3 separate regions of the Homo sapiens genome follow, and regions 2 and 3 are each linked to region 1. The links are contacts of gene promoters, found by promoter capture Hi-C in blood cells and fetal thymus (Javierre and others, 2016). All regions are on one chromosome and are shown on one strand. Each heading gives the region's core, a stretch centred on a gene start or on the middle of the fragment in contact. The rest is flanking DNA. Distances are from core to core; before and after follow the strand shown. Region 1 holds the start of TRAF3IP2 (TRAF3 interacting protein 2). Region 2 overlaps REV3L (REV3 like, DNA directed polymerase zeta catalytic subunit). Region 3 overlaps REV3L (REV3 like, DNA directed polymerase zeta catalytic subunit).

Region 1 (3,539 bases), core at 682-3,181:
GATTAGAGCGAGGCTGGCAAGTGCACAACAGTTAGCCTGCTTTCAGATAATGGTGCATCGTTGTTTGAAAATAAAATCAGGAACTCATTGCAGGTGAAATATCTTGAAATTCCTGTCCTTTCATCCCAGGGGAATAGAGAGAAATGCCTAAAAACATGACACGGACTACACCAGGACATCCCACAGAAACCAAAAGTCCTGCACCAGCCCATCCCAGTCAGCTAGGGCCTGTTTGAACTGTATTGATGGCAAGTAATTGCCAAAAAGAAACAATGACAATTTTTTTTTAAGTCACGGTCTGGAAAAAGTTAAGGATTCTGTGTATCCGCCATCTAATAATGTCTCTAATCACAGTCATCACCCTTACATGGTATTAGGATGTGTTTCATAGTTTCCCTTCCCCTCCCATTAAAGGCCCCACACACAGTGACTGGTCCAGCTGAGGAGTGGTTTCCAGGTCCAGCTACAGCAGTAACTCTGGCTTCTGGAGCTGGGCTTGTCTGCCAGTTCTCTGGCCTGCCTTGACTCTGTGGACAATAGCACAGACTATCCTTCCTGGGTAACCCAAATGGGACATGAACTAATTCGAGAAACTCCCTGTTTTCTCCTATTTGGCTAGAGCCAGTAATAAGGCCTCAATTCCAGGCAGCCCTCCCGCAGAGACACGTGTCTCCCAGCCTTTCGCCCTGACTGCTGCTTTACCTCTTGCCTTGAGAGCAGACGAGTGAAACAGAAATCAAAGCAGTTGACATGGAAGGGGGGTGAGCACCTACTAGGCATTTGGTAGCATGCTGGATTCTGGGAGGTAGAAAAATATCAGGAAACAAAGTCCTTTCCTCAAGGGGGTAACCAACTGGTAGTGGGAGGTAAAATTAAAATATGTGAATAATCGGTAAACAAAACAAGTCTTGAAGACCACCCATTACCACTACCCCTCTGGGACTATCCTGGCTTTGTTTTATAAGGGAATTTGACACACTCATGTTAGATCACCACCCCCCATCAATTTACTGATGAAGAAATCCAGGCTTAGTGGAGTCAGAGTGAATTGCCTAAGTCATGGAACCACAAGAAGTGAAGAACTTGAAACCAAGTTTCTTGTCCTTTTAAAAAATTTGGCCTCTTGTTCTCCTGTTCCTTTAAAAAAAAAAAAATCCCCCTATTCTAAGATACCATCTTGAACTTGAAAGTCACAAGAAGCTTGATTAGCTTCTAAGATCAAGTTCTGGCATTTCTCCCCCTTGTTCCCAAAGGCTCCGTCCAGCGCCAGGCTGGGAGGGCTGGAGGGCGGCTGCGGAGAGGGGCCGGGAGGCGGCTCACAGCCAGCACAGAGCTCAGCAGAACTTCCTGGCCCAAAAATGTGCTGTTGATTTTTTTCCCCCCTGCACGAAACAAGGATTGAGAAAACTGCCACTGACGTGTTCTGGGGCTGAAAGCCAATTACTTAATCTTTGCCATCCCTGGCTCTCTCTTTGGAGAAGTGGGGCTTGAATTCTTGAGAGAAACTTGTGGGGACACTAAGTACCCAAACGAATGGTTCCCAGGCAGCTCCGAGCTGTCCCCGTGTGCGAGCCTCCTCTCCTCAAAGGGTTAACCCGGCGGGGCTCGCTGGCCTGAAATACTATACTAGCAACACATCCTTGCAGCACAAACTTCACTGTCATTTTCTCAGCTAAGATGGTCTCTGTGCGAACAAGTTAAAGGAGGGGAGACGAACACAGAGGAAAGTAGAGGCAGAATGTTTCAGTAAAGGAGAAACAGCGTGCTTTGGGAAATAGGTCAGAGGTGAAGAAATAAGACCAGGCAAGTGGCAACTCCGAATAACTTACCTTAGATCCACCACGGACAGACAGACTGGGCCCGGAGGGTAGTCGGCTCTCGGCGGCTTCTCGTCTCCCTCCACCTTCTCCGGGCCCAGGTAAGTAGAAGAACAGGCTCTGAAGCAGGAAGTGGAAGCTGTATGCAAATTTCTACGGAGCCTAGGAAGCCTCTGCTCAAAATCTCCCTGTGGGCAGTGAATCAACGGCTGAGGAGTCACTTTATTTCTTAAAACAGAAACCTCCTTCATTCATGAGAAAGGGCCAGTGACCAATTAGGCGGCATTTTTGTTTTCGCCACCCAGCTAAGAAGCTGCCCAGGAGTGGGCAGAACCTCAGTGTAGTCGCAGTGCCCTCGCCTGGGAGGGTGTCTCCGGGAGGAGATTGAACTCGAATGTTAAGAATTAGTAATCATTAGCAGCTCCAAAGGAGGGGATTGTGGGCAGATAATGGGGAAGAAGAGGGAGTCGAGCTTCTTCCACCTCCTCTAACTGCTTAAAACATCAGCATTGCCGAGCGCGGTGACTCACGCCTGTAATCCCAGCACTTTAGGAGGCCGAGGCGGGAGGATCACGAGGTCAGGAGATCGAGACCATCCTGGCTAACAAGGTGAAACCCCGTCTCTACTAAAAAATACAAAAATTAGCCGGGCGTAGTGGCGGACGCCTGTAGTCCCAGCTACTCGGGAGGCTGAGGCAGGAGAATGGCGTGAACCCGGGAGGTGGAGCTTGCAGTGAGCCGAGATCGCCACTGCACTCCAGACTGGGCGACAGAGCGAAGACTCCGTCTCAAAAAAAAAATTTAAAAAAACCCAAAAAATCAGTATTTGCTGCCCATAACCACTGGGGGGGTGGGGGGGGGCTCACTGACCATGCTCCTGGACACACGTGTACACACAGCATACACATGCCTGTGGCTTGTGCACACACACCACCCTATTGTCAGGCACAAAAAAAGTGGTTAATTTTAAGAACACACACACACACATACATACACATGCACACATGCACACTAACCTCCTCTGGCTGCATTTTCCTGACCTCAAGATTTTTTTTCTCCCCTTTCCTTCCCATTGTTTAATCAGTAGCCTGCAGAATTTATTGCATGAAGGAGCGCTGCAGGCAGGATGATACCCAGCGATGTGAACAGAGAGAGAGAGAGACAACTGCCTTTCGGGGCAGCAGTCAGTAATGGGAGCAGTGTTAGCTGGAGCTTTGGAGTCAGGAGGACCTGGGTACGAACTCAGCCATGTCACTGGCCAGCTGGGCGCCCTGGGCAGACACACCATGCTCCTGGTGCTGGACTTGTCTGCCTGTTGAAGGGGTCCAAGTGTCAGTCCACTCAGCCGGCTATCTCTCTACTCTCATCAAGGGGACAGGCCCCAGAGCATCCCTGTTCAGATTGTACCAGGTTCTGCTCAAGCAGGATACAGGAAGCAGGTTGCTCAACATTCCACAAGCAGAGAAAATGCAGCTTGTTTTTAACACAGTATACACAGGTTGTTTGCATTTGGTTTGCAGAAAATGATGCAGCTATTAAAAATCATCAATATGTATGTATTATCTGAGCCACTAACATGAAAAAGTGGCTCTGAGATATTATTTAACTAAAAGTATTATCTTATTTTTTGCCAATATATGTGACATATACACACACATAGATATGTATATCGATTTTTTTTAAGAGACAGTGTCTCAGTCTATTGCCCAGGCTGGAGTGCAG
Region 2 (3,061 bases), core at 513-3,012, 270 kb before region 1:
TAGAAAAGAAAGGAATAAAGTTGGCATTTAAGAGGCAATATAATCTTCTTTTAAGATGTCTCTTATTTGTCTTTAATTTGTAAAGTTTTCCTCTGTCTCTTTTGAGGGGAGATACAGGAGAGAAAAAAGGGACCCTATTTTTAGTTTGGATATCTTCTGAAAAATATAAACAATAAGCCTATTAGAGTATCATTAATTCTAAGATAGTCTTAATTTAAAATAATGTAGAAGAACAACTAGTAGCATCTACACATTAAAACAATTTAAATCTTTGTAGGTAATATATTTTGACCATTAAGTTGCCATTTAAGTCTGCCTGATTCTAATAAAGGGCAGAAAGTATAAGCATACGTTTATTTCTTTCAATATTTCGTTAACTAAAATTTAACAATTTAAAGATTTAAAACCTAAATTCAAGAAAAACAAGGTGACTGGTTTGTTCCTGAAGTGATTTCTTAGAAGATTCTCATATCTTTGACTTTTTGAGATAAAATATTCAAGCAAACTCGGTGTTTTTGTTTTCTATTATGTGCCAACAATATCTAAACCATTATCAGCTCTCCAAAAGTTAAGCCATAGTTGTTATCTTTCATTTACAAGAGAGTATTACCTTGACAAAAGCTACTCCATTGGGGGACACTGTGATATCATGCCTAACTTGGTAAAGTAAATCTGGAGGTACTCTCAGAGAGGTACAGCCAAATTTGAACTCATCATACCTGTTAAGAAAGAGAACATTAAGCAAATACTTCCTCAAATCATAGAACAGAGATTTTACGCAATTTAAAAAATCTTTCTAACTCCATTAGAAATTCATTTTCAAACATCTAAACAAGAATTCATGTACTTAGTAATATGTTTATTTGCCTCATTACCAAAATAGTTTTTCAAATATTCATAATTTATTACAAGAAACATTTCTTAAATGGCACTATCCTAAAATTTATGGGTAAAATCTATACTGAAATACCAAATTTCAACTCAACATCTGATCATCTTATTTATTTTATTATTATTATTTTTTGAGATGGAGTCTCGCTCTGTCACCCAGGCTGGAGTGCAGTGGCGCGATCTCGGCTCACTGCAAGCTCCGCCTCCCGGGTTCATGCCATTCTCCTGCCTCAGCCTCCCGAGTAGCTGGGACTACAGGTGCCTGCCACCATACCCGGCTAATTTTTTGCATTTTTAGTAGAGACAGGGTTTCCTCATGTTAGCCAGGATGGTCTCGATCTCCTAACCTCATGATCTGCCCGCCTTGGCCTCCCAAAGTGCTGGGATTACAGGTGTGAGCCACCACGTCCAGCCCAATCATCTTATACTAAATTACTTAAATAAAAATTTATTTTAACATCCTTGTGAATATATTTAAAGAATAATTTAAACCTTAAATAGAAATACTGTAAATCTTGTAAATTTTCCAAATTCCTGTTTTTAATAAAAAGACAGGATTACCAATATAATTTCCACAGATGCTTTCTATGAAGGAATATAGGATATACTAAAACCAACACATGATCTCAAATACGCAAAAATCAATAAAAAGGAAGACTCCGTTATTTCCTACAATTTAAGAAAAGTATCTAATCCTTTGAGAATTTAAAATGTTATTATCAGTTTATAAAATTTAATTTACATTAATTAATAAAACCTAACATTTAATTTTTAAAATCCTGGACTATTTATAAGAAAAATAAAGAGGAGGTCTAGTTGAAGTTATAAGATCATAATCCTCAAACTGTTCCACTGAAAGGTAATTTACATCAACAATTTAACTTTCATTTTAAAAGAGACTATAGTTACATATGGAGTGAAACAGTTGCAAGGCTGACCTATTCCCAATCCTCTTCATGAGTCATCCATCCATGAAGCTGGATTAATCATATGGTGATCCATGTCAATTGGTAAGACAACTATAATGAATGGATTAGCTGGGATACAGTCCATTTATCTTGCTCATAGGGAAGGTGTCCAGAGCAAAGAGACACTCAGAAAGTGTCTAATTTTAGTAAGAAGTACAAAGCACAACAATATTATTGTAAATGTGAAAAAAACCTTACTTTCCCAAGTTCTCCACATGGCCAAGGCAGGTGGAAAAGCAGTAGTTATATGCAATCACAATAGAAGGATAAAGTGATTGGAAATCCAAAACGAGAACAGAGTTGCTATAGAAGCGGGATTCAGGCTCCATAATTAGAGGAACACACTGTGGGGCTCTCATCTGGGATCTTTGCTGAACACTAGGTGTCACAGGAATATAGTTCATTGGTTTAGCAATACGCAACATCATTGATTCCACACGGTACTGCAGGGAGAAAGGGAGGTGAGAAGAGAAGAAACACAGTTAAATATATTGGTCATTTGAATATATAATCATTTGAGGATAATCTGCTTTTCAGAATAAGATTGTATGACTTTTTTTTTTTTTTGAGACAGTGTTTCGCTCTTGTTGCCCAAGCTGGAGTACGATGGCACGATTGCGGCTCACTGCAACCTCCGCCTCCCAGGTTCAAGCGATTCTCCTACCTCAGCCTCCCGAGTAGCTGGGATTACAGGCATGCGCCACCATGTCCAGCTAATTTTTTGTATTTTTAGTAGAAACAGGGTTTCACCATGTTAGCCAGGCTGGTCTCGAACTCCTGACCTCAGGTGATCCGCCCACCTCAGCCTCCCAAAGTGCTGGGATTATAGGCGTGAGCCACTATGACCAGCCTGTAATACTGGTTATTTAGTCAGCTTTCAGATGCGAAAAGGGATATATGTAAATCCTTTTCCTATTCCTACGACTTTTATAAAAACTATAAAACATGTCAAATAACTTAAAAGATAAGTCAATTTTAAAAGACAGATGCAATTAGATCTCTTTTTATTTTTATTATTTACTTATTTATTTTGAGATGAAGTCTCGCTCTGTTGTCCAGGCTAGAGTGCAATGGCAAAATCTCGGCTCACTGCAACCTCCACCTCCAGGGTTCAAGTGATTCTCCTGTCTCAGCCTCCCAAGTAGCTGGGATAACAGGCTTGTGCCATCATGCCCAGCTAATTTTTGTATTTTTAGTAGAGA
Region 3 (3,311 bases), core at 1-2,500, 300 kb before region 1:
TAGGAGAATGAGTGCAACGTTTTATTGAGTGGAAGTAGCTCTCATCTGATGGTGGAATCAGCAGGGAGATGGTTTTCCCCTGGAGTTGGGCTTCTAGGTGGCCCCGTCTCTTCTCTGACTGCCCTGGCCAAACTCCACCTTGTCCTGCCGGTCAATGGCCTGCCAGCATGCCAGTGCCTCTCGGTGTGCTGTTCTGCTGGCGTGCTCCTCTTGACGACCAGCTGCTTGGGTCTTCCACCGAAGTGTTCCTCACAATGTCCAGCCGCTCGTGTGTCTGCCCACTAGGGTCTCGGGTTTTTATAGGCCCAGGATTGGGGCATGGCAGGCCAAGGTGGTCTTGGAAAATGGTAACATTTGGGCATGAAAGCAGGAGTGCCTATCCTCACCTAGATCTGTGGGGGTGGAGCCCTAGCCAGGGACCCACCTTTCTCTACCCAGCACTTCCCCTCCCGCTTTCCGTATCATTTTACGGGACCACACTCTTCCCTTCCCAGCACTCCCATATCAATAGCACATAAAACCTTTAGTTCTACTGAAAATTTGGAGTGAAATCTCTCCATAGTTAGAGCACATGTACTATTTGGTAAGCTTACCCTTGGTAATTCATGATACCAGCTGAAGACATCAATACCAATAAGTGAGAAGATTCTTGCCAAGGGTGGAAGGATTTGCTTGGTAATATAGTAAGTAGCATTCAGTCTCAGAGTTGGGTCCTGCAGGACTTCCACTGGGCGCCTTACAAGCTGGATAAGTGGTACTCCGGGGGTCCCATAAATGATGACGTATGGCACTCGCTCCCCAACCTGAGGCTCAGAGCGCCGGTCATAAGTCAGCATTTTCCTATTCGAATTCAAAGAAAAAAACCACACCCAAATACTGTTATGGAAGCCATCTTTCTCACAAATTAAGTCAGAATTAAACAATAATAAAACAATGAAAAAACTACAAAAGACAATTTCAAAACAGAATTACTATTTCTTTGAGAATAATATATATACATTTTGCTTAGTTGACACCAAGTGTAGATATCCTACAAGAGTTTAAAAATTACTCTGTAAATCACTGTTACCTGGAAAATAATGAGTTGGCAGATATCAACTAGCTTAAGATGTATTTTAGGTGGGAGTGGTGGCTCATGCCTGTAATTCCAGCACTTTGGGAGGCCAAGGATCACCTGAGCCCAGGAGTTTGAGACCAGCTTGGGCAACATAGCGAGACCCCCATCTCCACAAAAAAATTAGCCACCATAATGGTGCACACCTGTTATCCCAGCTACTTGGGAGGCTGATGTGGGAGGTTCGCTTGAGCCTGGGAGGTCAAGGCTGCAGTGAGCTGTGATTGCACCACTGCTTTCCAGTCTGGGCGACAGAGTGAGACCCTGCCTCCAGGGGCAGGAAAAAGATGTATTTTATCCCCTAAGAATGAGAACTAACTATCATTAAATCTATCATGAAAGATAAGAGAAAATTTACCTGGTTAAACTATCTGATTCCAGAATGATACCATCTAAATGCTTTGGTAGAACAATATTAAGGACTACCTAGTGATTTTGATGTGGGAAAAACAAATGAATCAAGGACTGTGTCACAATTTCTTTGCATAAGTTTCTGAAGGAAAGCCCAAAAGAGGATTTCCTCTTCACATCTTACGAAGTATGAGGGAATATTCACTAACTTTCAGTGAGGCTTCATGTGCGCAGGTAAAGAAACAATTTTGTGTCTGTGTCTATGGACTGTCTTTTCATTTGGGTCTTCTAGACCTGTGCAGAATCTCAGGACTATCCTGGCAAGGTACTGAGGGTATCATTACCTTGTAAGTTCAAGGGCTGGCACACAAGCTCCTGGTTTATAAGAAAAACTTCCTCTGTATTCCTTGGCAAAGATAAAGTCTTGTATGCTGGCCTTTCCTTCCAGAAGCTTCATACATTGTCGCTGAACATACTGTTTAATTAGACTTATATCTCTCGTTTCAAATAGCAGCTTTAGAGAACGCTCAAGTATCTTAAAACAAAAAAGATATGCAAGTAAAGATAAAATATCTCCTAGTATGTTTCACCATTGTTATTACACTTTCAATTATGTAACTACTGGGTAACCTGCTAACCTACCTAAATAATCTGTTACTTACAATGATGGGATAATAAAATTATTAAAAATTGAAAGTTATTTGAGACTTTAGAGAGCTTGCTATTTCTAAAAATAGAATATCATGTAGTTTAAGGAAAACCATGTGGAATGACATGCAAATTAACATTTGTCATGTGATAAGCAACATAAAACACGTTAAGTTTTTTTTTTTTAATAGTCAAAGCCTCTAGGTACAAGAAACCAGACACGATTTCATGTATTGTTTTTTTATTTACCAGTATAGAAAGGGTCCTGATTCAGTCACAGGAAACACAGAGAAGTTTAAAGATCACCAGGCAGTCAAATCAAAATCAGCCTTTTTGACTTTTTATAAAAATGTTGATAAATAACTATGACAGAATTTTCTGTGTTGGAAATTTCTACTAGGAAATAACCAGCATGCAGTGGATTTATGTAAGATTAATTTTTTTTTTTTTTTTGAGACGGAGTCTTGCTCTGTCGCTCAGGCTGGAGTGCAATGGCGTGATCTCGGCTCACTGCAACCTCTGCCTCCCGGGTTCAAGCGACTCTCCTGCCTCAGCCTCCCGAGTAGCTGGGACTACAGGCGTGTGCCACCACGCCCGGCTAATTTTTTGTTTTAGTAGAGATGGGGTTTCACCGTGTTAGCCAGGATGGTCTCGATCTCCTGACCTCATGATCCGCCCGCCTCGGCCTCCCAAAGTGCTGGGATTATAGGCGTGAGCCACCGTGCCCGGCCAAGTAGATTAAGTTAGTTCTAGGTGAAAGCTCTGTGTCTTATTCTGAATACTGGAACCAATGGATATTTATACAATAAGCTTATTAATTTAGCTTGAGTACAATTCTGCCTACAGAGAAAGAAGGTACTGGATTATATCTCTTCCAGAAATAGTGCTGAAAAAAATCCCAAATTCACATAATATTATATATATGACATAATATATTGATAATATTCAATCCACTATGCTTTTAATGCTCTCATCAAACAGTATATAGAATGCTATTCCCATTTATACCATTTATTTTTGTTTTGCTATAGAAGGAGTCTAGGCCCGAATAAAGAAAAAGCCAAAAAATATCAGGGTTATTATGGTTGAGAAATTTGAGTAATTTATAGCTAATTGTTTGGAAATCTTCCTAATTTGTATTTGATAATCCAAATAAATGAAAGTTCAGTTAATCTGGAATGGATTATGTTTCTCTCTT

Evidence for each region. Contacts are between HindIII fragments. The CHiCAGO score rates a contact against its expected background, and 5 or more counts as called.
Region 2: a contact is called between a fragment that was not itself captured here and the fragment with the promoter of TRAF3IP2 in region 1, in 2 of 17 cell types (erythroblasts and M0 macrophages). The highest score is 5.3, in erythroblasts.
Region 3: a fragment that was not itself captured here is called in contact with the fragment with the promoter of TRAF3IP2 in region 1 in 2 of 17 cell types (neutrophils and naive CD4 T cells); the score reaches 6.1 in neutrophils.

The regions. Positions count from the first base shown.
Region 1 is chr6:111,603,947-111,607,485 of GRCh38, forward strand. It overlaps TRAF3IP2 (TRAF3 interacting protein 2), which reads right to left and starts at 1,932. Exons shown (of 9, transcript NM_147686.4): 1 at 1,830-1,932. RefSeq lists enhancers at 1,641-1,710, 2,001-2,050, 2,896-3,528. The HindIII fragment of the contact is 15,213 bases long and covers 1,199-3,539 here.
Region 2 is chr6:111,331,066-111,334,126 of GRCh38, forward strand. It overlaps REV3L (REV3 like, DNA directed polymerase zeta catalytic subunit), which reads right to left. Exons shown (of 32, transcript NM_001372078.1): 23 at 2,058-2,302; 24 at 611-719. Among named protein-coding and RNA genes, the nearest start is that of SLC60A2, 73 kb to the left of the region's middle. The HindIII fragment of the contact is 4,545 bases long and covers 1-3,061 here.
Region 3 is chr6:111,309,260-111,312,570 of GRCh38, forward strand. It overlaps REV3L (REV3 like, DNA directed polymerase zeta catalytic subunit), which reads right to left. Exons shown (of 32, transcript NM_001372078.1): 29 at 1,810-2,000; 30 at 594-840. Among named protein-coding and RNA genes, the nearest start is that of SLC60A2, 52 kb to the left of the region's middle. The HindIII fragment of the contact is 1,328 bases long and covers 587-1,914 here.